4 separate regions of the Homo sapiens genome follow, and all the other regions are linked to region 4. Evidence: promoter capture Hi-C in 16 types of primary human blood cells and fetal thymus (Javierre and others, 2016). All regions are on one chromosome and are shown on one strand. The core of a region is centred on a gene start or on the middle of the fragment in contact, and the rest is flanking DNA. Distances in the headings are between cores, read along the strand shown.

What was found. The method cuts DNA at HindIII sites, captures the fragments that hold promoters and counts their contacts. A CHiCAGO score of 5 or more calls a contact.
Region 1: a contact is called between a fragment that was not itself captured here and the fragment with the promoter of CNBP in region 4, in 2 of 17 cell types (fetal thymus and naive CD4 T cells). The highest score is 5.9, in fetal thymus.
Region 2: a fragment that was not itself captured here is called in contact with the fragment with the promoter of CNBP in region 4 in 1 of 17 cell types (naive CD8 T cells); the score reaches 5.5 in naive CD8 T cells.
Region 3: a contact is called between a fragment that was not itself captured here and the fragment with the promoter of CNBP in region 4, in 1 of 17 cell types (total CD8 T cells). The highest score is 5.6, in total CD8 T cells.

Annotation. Positions count from the first base shown.
Region 1 is chr3:128,797,358-128,800,214 of GRCh38, forward strand. RAB7A (RAB7A, member RAS oncogene family) reads left to right here. Exons shown (of 6, transcript NM_004637.6): 3 at 586-712. It also overlaps the pseudogene RPS15AP16. Among named protein-coding and RNA genes, the nearest start is that of MIR12124, 48 kb to the right of the region's middle. The HindIII fragment of the contact is 2,076 bases long and covers 259-2,334 here.
Region 2 is chr3:128,731,584-128,734,407 of GRCh38, forward strand. All of the region lies in intron 1 of RAB7A (RAB7A, member RAS oncogene family), which reads left to right. Among named protein-coding and RNA genes, the nearest start is that of RAB7A, 6.8 kb to the left of the region's middle. The HindIII fragment of the contact is 3,728 bases long and covers 1-2,824 here.
Region 3 is chr3:128,917,088-128,919,907 of GRCh38, forward strand. The region is part of intron 12 of CFAP92 (cilia and flagella associated protein 92 (putative)); the gene reads right to left. Among named protein-coding and RNA genes, the nearest start is that of ACAD9, 39 kb to the left of the region's middle. The HindIII fragment of the contact is 904 bases long and covers 920-1,823 here.
Region 4 is chr3:129,182,538-129,185,293 of GRCh38, forward strand. It overlaps CNBP (CCHC-type zinc finger nucleic acid binding protein), which reads right to left and starts at 1,359. Exons shown (of 5, transcript NM_003418.5): 1 at 1,239-1,359. It overlaps LOC105374101 (a long non-coding RNA gene), which reads left to right and starts at 1,537. Exons shown (of 2, transcript XR_924469.3): 1 at 1,537-1,935. RefSeq lists an enhancer at 1,693-1,782. The HindIII fragment of the contact is 13,108 bases long and covers 1-2,756 here.

The DNA.
Region 1 (2,857 bases), core at 47-2,546, 390 kb before region 4:
TCTTGCTGAGTTTTCTTACTAGAAAACATATTTGGAGGAGCATTCTTTGAGGTGGATTTGTTTTGGTGATATATTGGTGCTTTTTCTGCTTCAGATTTTAAACTTTAAAGCAGCAAATTGTCTGAGTGGTGTGTGTCTGCTGAAAGCCAAGGTCTTCCTCCTGGTGTTACTTCATCAAGCTAAATAGCAGCCACTAAATGGAGAAACATCTAAGATAGCAGGGATACTGTTGGAATAGCAGAACAGTCTTAATAGTGAAGCTTCTTTTAGAAAGCAGTATATTTGCTGGCATCCTTCTAGAATGGAAAAAATAATACTAGGCTCTACCATTTGACCTGGCTGTGCCAAAACATGTAAGCAGCTTTTCCACATCTGCCCCACATCTGTACCCTATATTTTTACCCAGAGAGAAAACACAAAACTTCAAAAGTGTAATGCTCGGAAGGCTACTGGCATTGCCCTTTGCTGTGAGGGCAGTTTCTTGTCCTTCAGGTCAGGCAGATTCTTTTAAATGCTTCAAGTAATTCGTGTCAGTTTCAGGACCCTCCTATTTGACTTATACTTATGGTTTTTCTCCAATTTCAGAGTCGGGAAGACATCACTCATGAACCAGTATGTGAATAAGAAATTCAGCAATCAGTACAAAGCCACAATAGGAGCTGACTTTCTGACCAAGGAGGTGATGGTGGATGACAGGCTAGTCACAATGCAGGTAAGCACATGTCTTGGCTGTGCTGACCAGGCCTTGATAGTTCATTTAGTCTTAATCTTTCCTCATGCATAGACATTTTCCTTCCCTGTTCTTCAAATCTTATTATCTTATTTGTAGATAATTGGCTGATACTCAGTTAAATTTGAATTTCAGATCAATAGTGAATACTTTTTTAGTATACTTCTAGTGTATCTCAGATACGACTTGCTAAGACACACTAAAAAATTCTTCTTAAAAAAAAACTCAGATTTATCCTTTCTTGTTTTTTGTTGTTTTTGGTTTTGTTGTTTGCTAAATTTGGCAACCTGCAGGTCTCTGTCTTGTGCCTCTCTTGACATCCTTGCCCAGTGCTTTAGGTAAACATCTTTGTCTCACCTCAGTAGTGAGACATAAACTTTATTTTTCTGACTTCCTATTTCATACGTAACTTCAAGAGTTGTGTGTCTATTGAGCCAATCTTTTTTTTATGTATCAGCTTATTAATCTTTCAAGGGTTCCCTTTCAACAGTTAGGATAAGATACAGATTCTTTCATATGACTTGTTGAAAAGCCTTCACATTCTGGCTATAAACTATTATTCCCTTTTTTTCCCCCATTGAGTCATTTTGTTTGTATACATGTATTAACATCCCTAGAAAAGAAACCCCTGAAGGATGGATACCTTGAGCCCAGGAGTTTGAGCCTGCAGTGAGCTGTGACTGCTCCATTATACTCCAGCCTGGGTGATGGAGTGAGACCCTGTCTCTAAATTTAAAAAAAAAAAAAAAAAAAAAAAAGAATCCCAGGATTTTCCCTCCTGTATTTTCATCTCTTTCTTCATGGTCCATGATGCCAGCTGAGGTTGTCAGTACAACCTCACTTTGAAACCAAACTATTGGGATAGGAGTAGATTATCCTGTCATTTTTCTAGATCTTTGAGTTGCACATCACATCTGGGGCCAATCATTCCAGGGGCAGTTTTAACCTGCCTGTGAGGTTTACAGTAATTTTCCCAGCTCTGTGATGACCAGTGATTTCAAATTTTCAATGTGATCATGTTTCATCTTCACACTTAGAACCAGACCATGACTTGGGAGCACAGCCTAATAAGAACCTGGTGTTTGCCCTTGAGAGCATCAGCCAAGACGTTCATGCATTACGGAGGCAAGAAAAGATGGTGGAAATAGCTGTTACTCACTTTTTTTTTTTTTGTCTCGTTCCAGTCATTCCGAATCATGTGCTGCTCTTACAGACTTGTGTTGGTGGATATGTCTCTGCTTCCAGCAGGGCCTGTATACCCACCTGAAGTCTCCAACTTTTAGCTCAGATCTTTGGAAACTTCTATCTCCATGGCAGTTGTTCTTTCCTATGTGCTTCTAGAGGCAAATACAATTCTAATCCCATTATAGTCCTAGAAAGTACCTGGCAAATAGTGGGGGCTTGCTGAAATGTGTGAATGATGTAGGTTAAAGGTAGAAATTTGTGCACGTGTTGACCTCGAGCCATGGCATGCTCCTAGAGGATCAGGACTCTTAATTGACTCACACTTCTAGGACAGAGCTGGTATGAATCTCTCATCCTCACCTCACCTACACACATACACCTAGAGATCTTCAAAATGTAACTACAGTTTAAGCAAGTCAAGCTTGAGAGTAGAACTGGAAAACCTTGGCCCAAGAAATTGGCAAAGCTTGTGTCTGCAGTTGTTGGAGATTCTCAGTCCCACTCTCCACATGTACAGAAATCTTTGTCTCAAAGGATTTAACATAAATCCCTGTCATTCCTGGCAAAAACAAGGGTAAGACCACTCTGTAGGGACATTTAGTACCGCAGGAGAGAAGATGAGTTCATAACCACATGAGGAAATAATGTACCACAAGAGATGTTCACAATGACTAGAGATGTTCTAAAAAGAAATAGAAACCATAATGGAAAGGGATACTATAAAAAAATGAGGATATGGAAAACTTAGAACTTCAAGAAGTGAAAACATAGTATTGAAATAAGCTAAAGGAACAGTTAAACTGTAGATTAAATGGAGCTGAAAAAAGCAGTAAGCCGTAAGAGCTGAGCAAATTTTCTAAAAGAAGACTTAAAATTGTAGAAGACCGAAAAGCAAAATCTTAAGAGCAACTATAGAAAAAAAAGACATGACTTATAAAGGAA
Region 2 (2,824 bases), core at 238-2,737, 450 kb before region 4:
TGCTCAGGTGGCTCAGCTGGAATGTCAGTCTAGGTCTGCTAACTCAGTTCAGTGCTCTTTCTGATGTACCATCCTGCCTTTCCATTATATGCTAGTGCCCTAAAGACCACGACATTTCACCCCTTGTAAAAGTGTATCTTTCGGCCGGGGGCGATGGCTCACACCTGTAATCCCAGCACTTTGGGAGGCCGAGGAGGGTGGATCACAGGGTCAAGAGATAGAGACCATCCTGGCCAACGTGGTGAAACCCCGTCTATACTAAAAATATAAAAATTAGCTGGGCATAGTGGCATGCACTGTAGTCCCAGCTATTCAGGAGGCTGAGGTAGTAGAATCGCTTGAACTGGGGAGGCGGAGCTTGCAGTGAGCCGGGATCGTGCCATTGCACTCCAGCCTGGCGACAGAGCAAGATTCCATCTCAAAAAAAAAAAAAAGTGTCTCTTTCTTCCACTACCTTTTTTTTTTTTCTCTCTCTGAGACAGAGTCAAGCTCTGTCGCCAGGCTGGAGTGCAGTAGCATGATCTCGGCTCACTGCAACCTCCGCCTCTCGGGTTCAAGCAATTCTCCTGCCTCAGCCTCCTGAGTAGCTGGGGCTACAGGTGCACGTCACCATGCCCAGCTAATTTTTGTATTTTTAGTATAGATGGGGTTTCACCATGTTGGCCAGGATGGTCTCAATCCCTTGACCCTGTGATCCGCCCGCCTTGGCCTCCCAAGGTGCTGGGATTACAGGCGTGAACCACCACGCCTGGCCCACTACCTTTTATTTAAAATGATACGTCTTTTTTGCTGATTATTAAACTATTCAGTTAAAAAAAAAAAGCTAGGAAAATTCAGAAATATAAAGAAGGAAAATTTGTGATTCACTACCCCGAGGAAGACCAAAGTGTTAACTGGTTATTTTCTTCCTTTGAATGTATACTTTCATACCTTCCTTTAATGAGATTGAACTCTTGGCCAGGCATGGTGGTCAGTACTTTGGGAGGAGTAATCCCAGCACTTTGGGAGGGTAAGGCAGGAGGATTGCTTGAGCCCAGGAGTTCAAGACCACCTTCAGCAACAAAGTAAGACTCCATCTCTACAAAGAAAAGAAAAAATTAGGTGGGTGTGGTGGTACACTTGTGGTTCCAGATGGTGGGAGGCTGAGACGGGAGGATCACTTGATTCCAGGAGTTTAAGGCTGCAGTGGTTTGTGTTCGTGGCACTGCACTCCAGCCTGGGTGGCAGAGCAAGACCCTGTCTCAAGAAAAAAGAAATTGAACTCTCCCCAAAAATGATGTGAGAATTTAACTGTGGAGGAGACCAGATACTCTTGGGTGATGTGACCTGTGATACTTCTCCTAGTAGACACTGAATGATGAGAAGCTGGGGATCATAGGAATAGCTGTATTTTTCAAATGTTTGTTGGTAACGAGTGAGGAACCTGATGCATCCAGCTCCAGAGTAAGGTTTATTTGCCATGGTAACACTGGATAAGTACATTGTTGCCTGTATTTCCAAGTAATTTATCATTTCTGTATTTTAGTAAACATACATATATACAGAAAAGTGCACAAATAAGTGGACGGCTTAGAGAATTTTTATAAACCCAGAGGCCCTCTTAGTCTCCTTTAAGTCATTATCATCGATGCCCTGATGCTTGCGTAGTGAGTCTTCTGATTTCTAGAACTGTAGACTAATTTTGCCTGATTTGGATTTTGTGTAAATGGAATCATACACTGTGTATTCTTGCGTATCTGGTTTCTTTGACTCAGTGTTGTTTGTGAGACTTTGTGTTGTTGTGTACAGTTGTAACTGGAGTTTCCATTGCTCAGTAGTATTATGTGATATATCATAATGTATTTAAGTAAAAAGACTGAGTTTTAGGGTATGTGTCTGTATTCATTTGCTAGGGCTGCCGTAACAAGTATCACAGATAGAGTGGCTTAAACAGAAATTTATTTTCTCAATTCTGAAGGTTAGAAATCTGAGGTCAAGCTGTCGGGAGGATTAGTTTCTTCTGAAGCCTCTCCTTGGTTTGTAAATGACTGTCTTCTCTTCCCTGTATCTTCACAGGATCTTTCCTCTGTATTGGCTGTGTCCTATTCTCCTTTTCTTTTAGGACACCAGTCGTATTGGATTGAGGCCCACCCTTATGACCTCACTTAACCTCAGTTACTTCTTTAAAGGCCCTGTCTGCAAATAAGTCACATTCTGATATATTGGGGATTAGAATTTCAACTTAAAAATTTTAGGTGGACACAGTTCACTTCATAAGAGTATCTATTCTGCTCTAGTAGATATGGCCAGTTTTCAAAAGTTGTACCAGCGTATTCTTCCACCAGCAGTATATAAGAAGTCCAAATATTCCACATCCTTGCTAGCACTTGTAACTTTTTCTCTCTAATTTTAGTTCCCTCTGGTAGAAAGCCATTTCTTTATGGCACCATGGTACAGCTTGTTTACTCACCAGTGTAGGGGAACCTCAAGGGACTGGGGAAGGTTATCCTGGAGTAAAACGTGTCAGTTTGAGACTACCTCTTGTAAATGCTACTTAAATCCATTGGGGTTAAAAGCAGAGGTTCGGCCAGGCACAGTGGCTCATGCCTGTAATCCCAGCACTTTGGGAGACCGAGGTGGGCGGATCACTTGAGGCCAGGAGTTCAAGACCAGCCTGGCCAACATAGCGAAACCCTGTGTCTACTGAAAATACAAAAAATTAGCCAGGCGTGGTGGTGGGCACTTGTAATTCCAGCTACTTGGGAGGCTGAGACATGACAATCGCTCGAACCTGGGAGGTGGATGTTGCATGAGAATCGCTTGAACCTGGGAGGTGGAGCTGAGA
Region 3 (2,820 bases), core at 122-2,621, 270 kb before region 4:
AGACTGTCCAGGCAACAAGGGATGCAAGGTAAAGGCAAGTCTAGGTCCTCAGACTTTGGAGCACCTGCGAGAAGATTATACTAGGGATGCCACATAGAGCAAGGATCCTGTCATGGCCCACATGGAACTTCAATCAATATTTCTTGATGTGTCCAGTTTTTCTAGTTGTCCTTAGTGGGGGAGTTGATCTGAGTTTCTCAGTTAGCCATTCCTAGAAGTCCCCTGCTCCTTCCAAATCCTAGAATTCGTGAATTACAACCTAGGGGGACAGATTCTTCTTTCCATGCTACTCCTTTCTTACAATTTGAAGTTGAAATTCTGACCTAATGCTTATTACAGGGAAAGCAAACTGTTCCGTAGTTCTTCTGGGTGCCTGAGATTCTCTGCTGAGGGGTGACACCTGCAGGAGAATTTGGACTCAGAGCAAAAGTAACTAGATGCTGGAGAAGTAAATACAGTATTTAAAAAAGGCCACAGACTGAACAACTGAAGCTAAATTATTGGAAAAGATGGGCTAAGAATTTAACATAAGAAATTGTTTTAAAATAAGAGTGAAGATAGCAATATGAAGCAGAAGTAAAACTAAAAGAAAAAGTATTGAGTATGAAAATAGTTGAAATAGAAGACAAGAGAATGAGATATATTGCAGAAGTGATACTGTTGTAGAACGAATGAATGAACTGGAATATCCACTTGAGATATGCTTTCAGAAAGCAGTCCTGTATAAAAAAGATAAAATTAGAAACTGAGTATAGAGGATGGAAATAACATCCAAATAACAGAAATCCCAAAAGGAGGGGAAAAGTGAGAACAAGAAAATTTGAAGCAATAATGAATGTCAGAAAAGACAAAACTTCCAAGCCTGGGTACACTATTATTAGTGGGATTTAAGCAAACAAATACAAAGATAAACTCTCAAAGCTTCTAGAGGAAAAGAGCAGGCCACCTGTAAAGAAAAACTATCACTTGTGATCAGATCCACAACAGCAACAAGGTAAGTTAACTTCAACCTACAATTTCATATCCAAGCAAACTAATTGTGAGGGCTTAGGTTTAAAGGCCTTAGGTTTTACATAAAACCCTCCTTTAAAAACTCTTGGGGCCAGATGTGGTGGCTCATGCCTGTAATCCCAGTACTTTGGGAAGCCTAGGCAGGCAGATCATCTGAGGTCAGAAGTTCAAGACCAGCTTGGCCAACATACAGTGAAACCCTTTCCATACTAAAAAATACAAAAATTAGCTGGGCATGGTGGCACACGCCTGTAGTCCCAGCCACTTGGGAAGCTGAGGCAGGAGAATCGCTTGAATCCAGGAGGCAGAGGTTGCATTGAGCCGAGATCATGCCACTCTACTCCAGCCTGGGTGACAGAGCCAGACTCCGTCTCAAAAAAACAAAACAAAAGTCACAAAACTCTTTGGAGAAATTCAAAATGGAGGAGGAACATGCAGGAGGATTCAAGGTTAGCAAGTAATGTCCGATAGCCTAGTAAAGTTGTCTTAAAAGGACTAGGAAAATAAAATTTCAGAGCCTGGAATTGAAATTCTAGAGACTATAAAAGGGATGGTGGAGTGTGGGTAGGAGATGAGATAAAAGGGATGTAAATGTACAATTTGTCTTATAAAGAGAATATAGTTTTATGAGTTTAATGTTCAGTAGGAATGCCTAACCATATGGTCTTCAGGATAACCACCTTAAAAAGAAAGATAGAATGTATAACTTAAGTCCACAGAAGAAAACTTGATCTATCCAAGGAACACAGGAACGGAGGGTTTAAAAGTAGATTAGGTGGCAAAAATGCCTAACCTAACAGTAATTAATGTTAAGCTTGCCAATTAAAGAATCTCAGATTGGATTTTTTTTTTTTTTTTTTTTTTTTGAGACAGAGTTTTGCTCTTGTTGCCCAGGTTGGAGTGGAATGGCGCGATCTTGGCTTACTACAACCTCCGCCTCCCGAGATGAAGTGATTCTCCTGCCTCAGCCTCCCAAGTAGCTGGGATTACAGGCGTGTGCCACCACGCCTGGCTAATTTTGTATTTTTAGTAGAGACAGGGTTTCACCATGTTCAGGCTGGTCTCGAACGCCAGACTTCAAGCGATCCACCCACTTCAGCTTCCCAAAGTGTTGGGATTACAGGCGTGAGCCACTGCACCCAGCCTGGATTTTTTTTTCAAGCTAACAATATGCTATCTACAAAACTTTCAACACAAAGATACAGGTTTGACAACTAAAGGGAGACAGCATATACACTAGGCAAAAAGGCATGAGAAAACAAAGACAAAAAAGCTGTGTGGCATTCTTAATATCTGCTGAAACAATTCAAGTTAAAAATCTATCAAAAGGGGCAAAAGGATATTGTATATTGAGGACAACAAAAAGGGATAACTTGTAAATATATATGCACCTAGCAATATAGTCTCAAAATATATTAAGAAACAACTGACAGGATTACAAGAAGAAATAGACATCTATCTAACATCACTGGAGAACAACCAAGGCAACCAGGATTTGAGAGTCCAAGAATCTGGAGAAAAGGGAAATAATGGTGGTTCCATTTTCTTTTTGCAGTTTTCTCTCAAGGGATTTACTGACTCCTAATTTGCACATGGATAAGGCAGAAATAAGAACATAAGCAGAAAAAGAAGCTTAAGAAGTTTAGAAGCTAAGGAGGTATTTTGGAAAATGCTGCATTGCTAGAGAAACAAAATTGGATTTCAAAATTGGAAATTGTGCCAAGGAGGAAGGGCCCTGGTACCTCTAGGCCTCCAGTTTAGAATTCAGAAAATCTGCTTTAGGAGTAAGGGCAAGCCTGACTCTGATTA
Region 4 (2,756 bases), core at 109-2,608:
CATTCTAAAACAGGTTCTCACGATATGGAAAAATCTAGATGGAGGGGAGCTAGTTGAATTTCGTGTCTCGTTTGTAATTACATCTGTTTCATTAATCCAAGAAATGATGCAGACTACCGCCCGCTGCTGTGGTTTTGGAGGTTTGACAAATTCGTGTTTTTTCTGGTAATGGCGCTTTTAAAGGATCCCAGCAACTTAAATAGTGTTAACTCTTGGAATGTGAGCCCCATCAGCCCCTTTTGGAATGGTAATGTAACACAAGCAACTTAGTATTTAAATGACGATAAAAATTCAAGAATCGGAAAACTATCAAGGATAGGGAGTATAAACTCTAAAAGCTCCCAAGTCTTCCAGCAGTCTCGCCACTCCAAACACAAAGGCTTCTTCAGGAACCCTTTGTTGTTGTTTGTTTGTTTGTTTGTTTGTTTTTTTAAGACGGAGTCTCTCTCTGTTGCCCATGCTGGAGTGTAGTGGCGCGATCTCGGCTCACCACAACCTCGGCCTCCGGGGTTCACGCGATTCTCCTGTCCAGCCTCCCGAGCTGCTGGGACTACATGCGCCCGCCACCATGCCCGGCTAATTTTTTATTTTTAGTACAGACCAACTTTCACCATATTGGTCAGGCTGGTCTCGAACTCCTGACCTCGTGATCCGCCCGCCTGGGACTCTCAAAGTGCTGGGATTACAGGCGTGAGCCACCGCGCCCGGCCTAAGAACCCTTTTCTAAGGCCCCCAAAACCCTTGGCACATGGCCCGCCAGGCGCACGACCCCAGCACATGGCCTGCACGACTATACCCACCCCATCCCCCCTTCATCCGCAGCCGGGAGCCTTTCCCCACCACACGGACTCCTTCCAGTGAGTTCCCGCCAAATCCACCCTCGGTCCCTCATTCCGCGACCCTCGAAGCGTCAGGGCCTCGGCCCCAAGGGCGCACGGGCGGGCCTCCTCTGCCCTAAGCCTGCGGCCTGGGGTGCGGCCGTGGCGCCGAAAGACCCGCATGCTCGGCGACCCAGCTTTCCAGGACGAAGAAAGGACAGAAGTGTCGTCCGACAGCGGTGCGCCAGAAACCCGGGTCCGAGGCGGCGGCAGCAGCCGAGCTTCCCGCCTGACGCAGCAGAGGCGCAGGCCAAAGTGCGGCCGCCATCGCCACCTCGCCGCTCCCTACCCTCTCTGTCCGCCACAGACCCGACCCGCACTGCGGCTCCGTCAGCGCCGGGCCCCTCCCCCAGCCCTCACCTTCCGCGTCGGAGCGGGCCCGCAGCGGCGGAGACTCGGACGCAGGCCTGGGGAAGACGGCTCGCAAGGTAGAGGCTGTTTATTTTGAGGGTCCTTGCCTGCGCCACACGCGGGTCTGCACACGGCCCCACATACGCCGCTGCGCACGGCTCTCCTCCGCCTCGCCCACGCGGCCAATCAGCGCGCGGGGTTCGGCAGTCCAATCAGAGCCGCCCGCGGCAGGGCCGCCCACTAGAGCGCGGCGCGGGGCGGGTGTTTCTGCGCGCAGCGTCTTTTCCCGCCGTGCCCCGCGCGCGGCCTTTCACGCCGGGATCCGGGTCCCGGTGCTTCTCGGTTCATTCCCAGCTGGGTCCGGGCCCGGCCAGACTGGGTGGAAATCTGGCTGACCTTGGTGGTCTGTCTTGGCCAGCTGGAGCAAAGGGATGCCAGGGGACGGGTCTCGGTGCAGTGACTGCCATTAGCTTGGGGCCGCAGAAAGTTTCTCCCCTTTCTCGGGCTCCTGCCAGGCCCTTGGCTTTCAGAGCCAGGCCCGATTTCTAGATAACATTTAAGTTTGCAGAAAAGGGGATGCCAAGTCACGGTGGTCACGGCTGTGGGATGCAGCCTCTGAGATTTGTATTAATTTTTGTGAGCCGGGGAAAGGCCTTGCTGCTTTCTCCGCCAGGACTGATGTGTCTTCCCAAGATGAAAGTGCCTGGTAAGGGCGAGGGGCCTCCCTGGGAAGGTCATGAGCATGTAAGGTAATGGGGCCTAGACTGTGACTTTTGGCACGTTTATGAGTGACATCCCCCGGGAGGGCAAGGATAACCATTTGACCTGGTCTGTCATATTCAGGAATAGACTTCAGTTTAGTTGTGGTATTTTCTCCAAAAGAGATTTGTGTATATAGCCCTAGATAGTCTTGTCAAGATTAAACCCAATTTAAACTGTTAACTATAAAATATTTTAGAATTTTGTCTCATTCTAGAATGGCTTTATTCGAAACAAAAAAAAAGGAAGAGTCCCAAGTTTCGTCTCAGTGAAACCTGCCAGTTCAACACTATGATTTATTTTTCTTTTTTTCTTTAATTTTTTTTTTTTTTAAGAGTAGGGTCTTGCTCTGTCGCTGGGTTTACAGGCATAAGCCACCAATCCCAAATCCCGGGGCTATGATTTTTGAAATCATGTTCGTGAGAAGGCAGAGCACATGTGTTGAGAGTCAGACTTTAAACCTGGGTTCAAATCATTAGTGCTTAATCATTGTAAAGCAGTTAGGAGGTTGCGTTCAACATAGCAATTATCAAAGAATGAATGTATAACTTTAAAGACCAATGATATTTTAAACTTTTTTTTTTTTTTGAGAACGGAGTCTCACTCCGTTGCCCAGGCTGGAGTGCAATGGCACGATCTCAGCTCACTGCAACCTCCGCCTCCTGGATTCAAGTGATTCTCCTGCCTCAGCCTCCCCAGTAGCTGGGATTATAGGCATGCGCCACCACGCCCGGCTAATTTTGTATTTTTAGTATAGGCGGGGTTTCT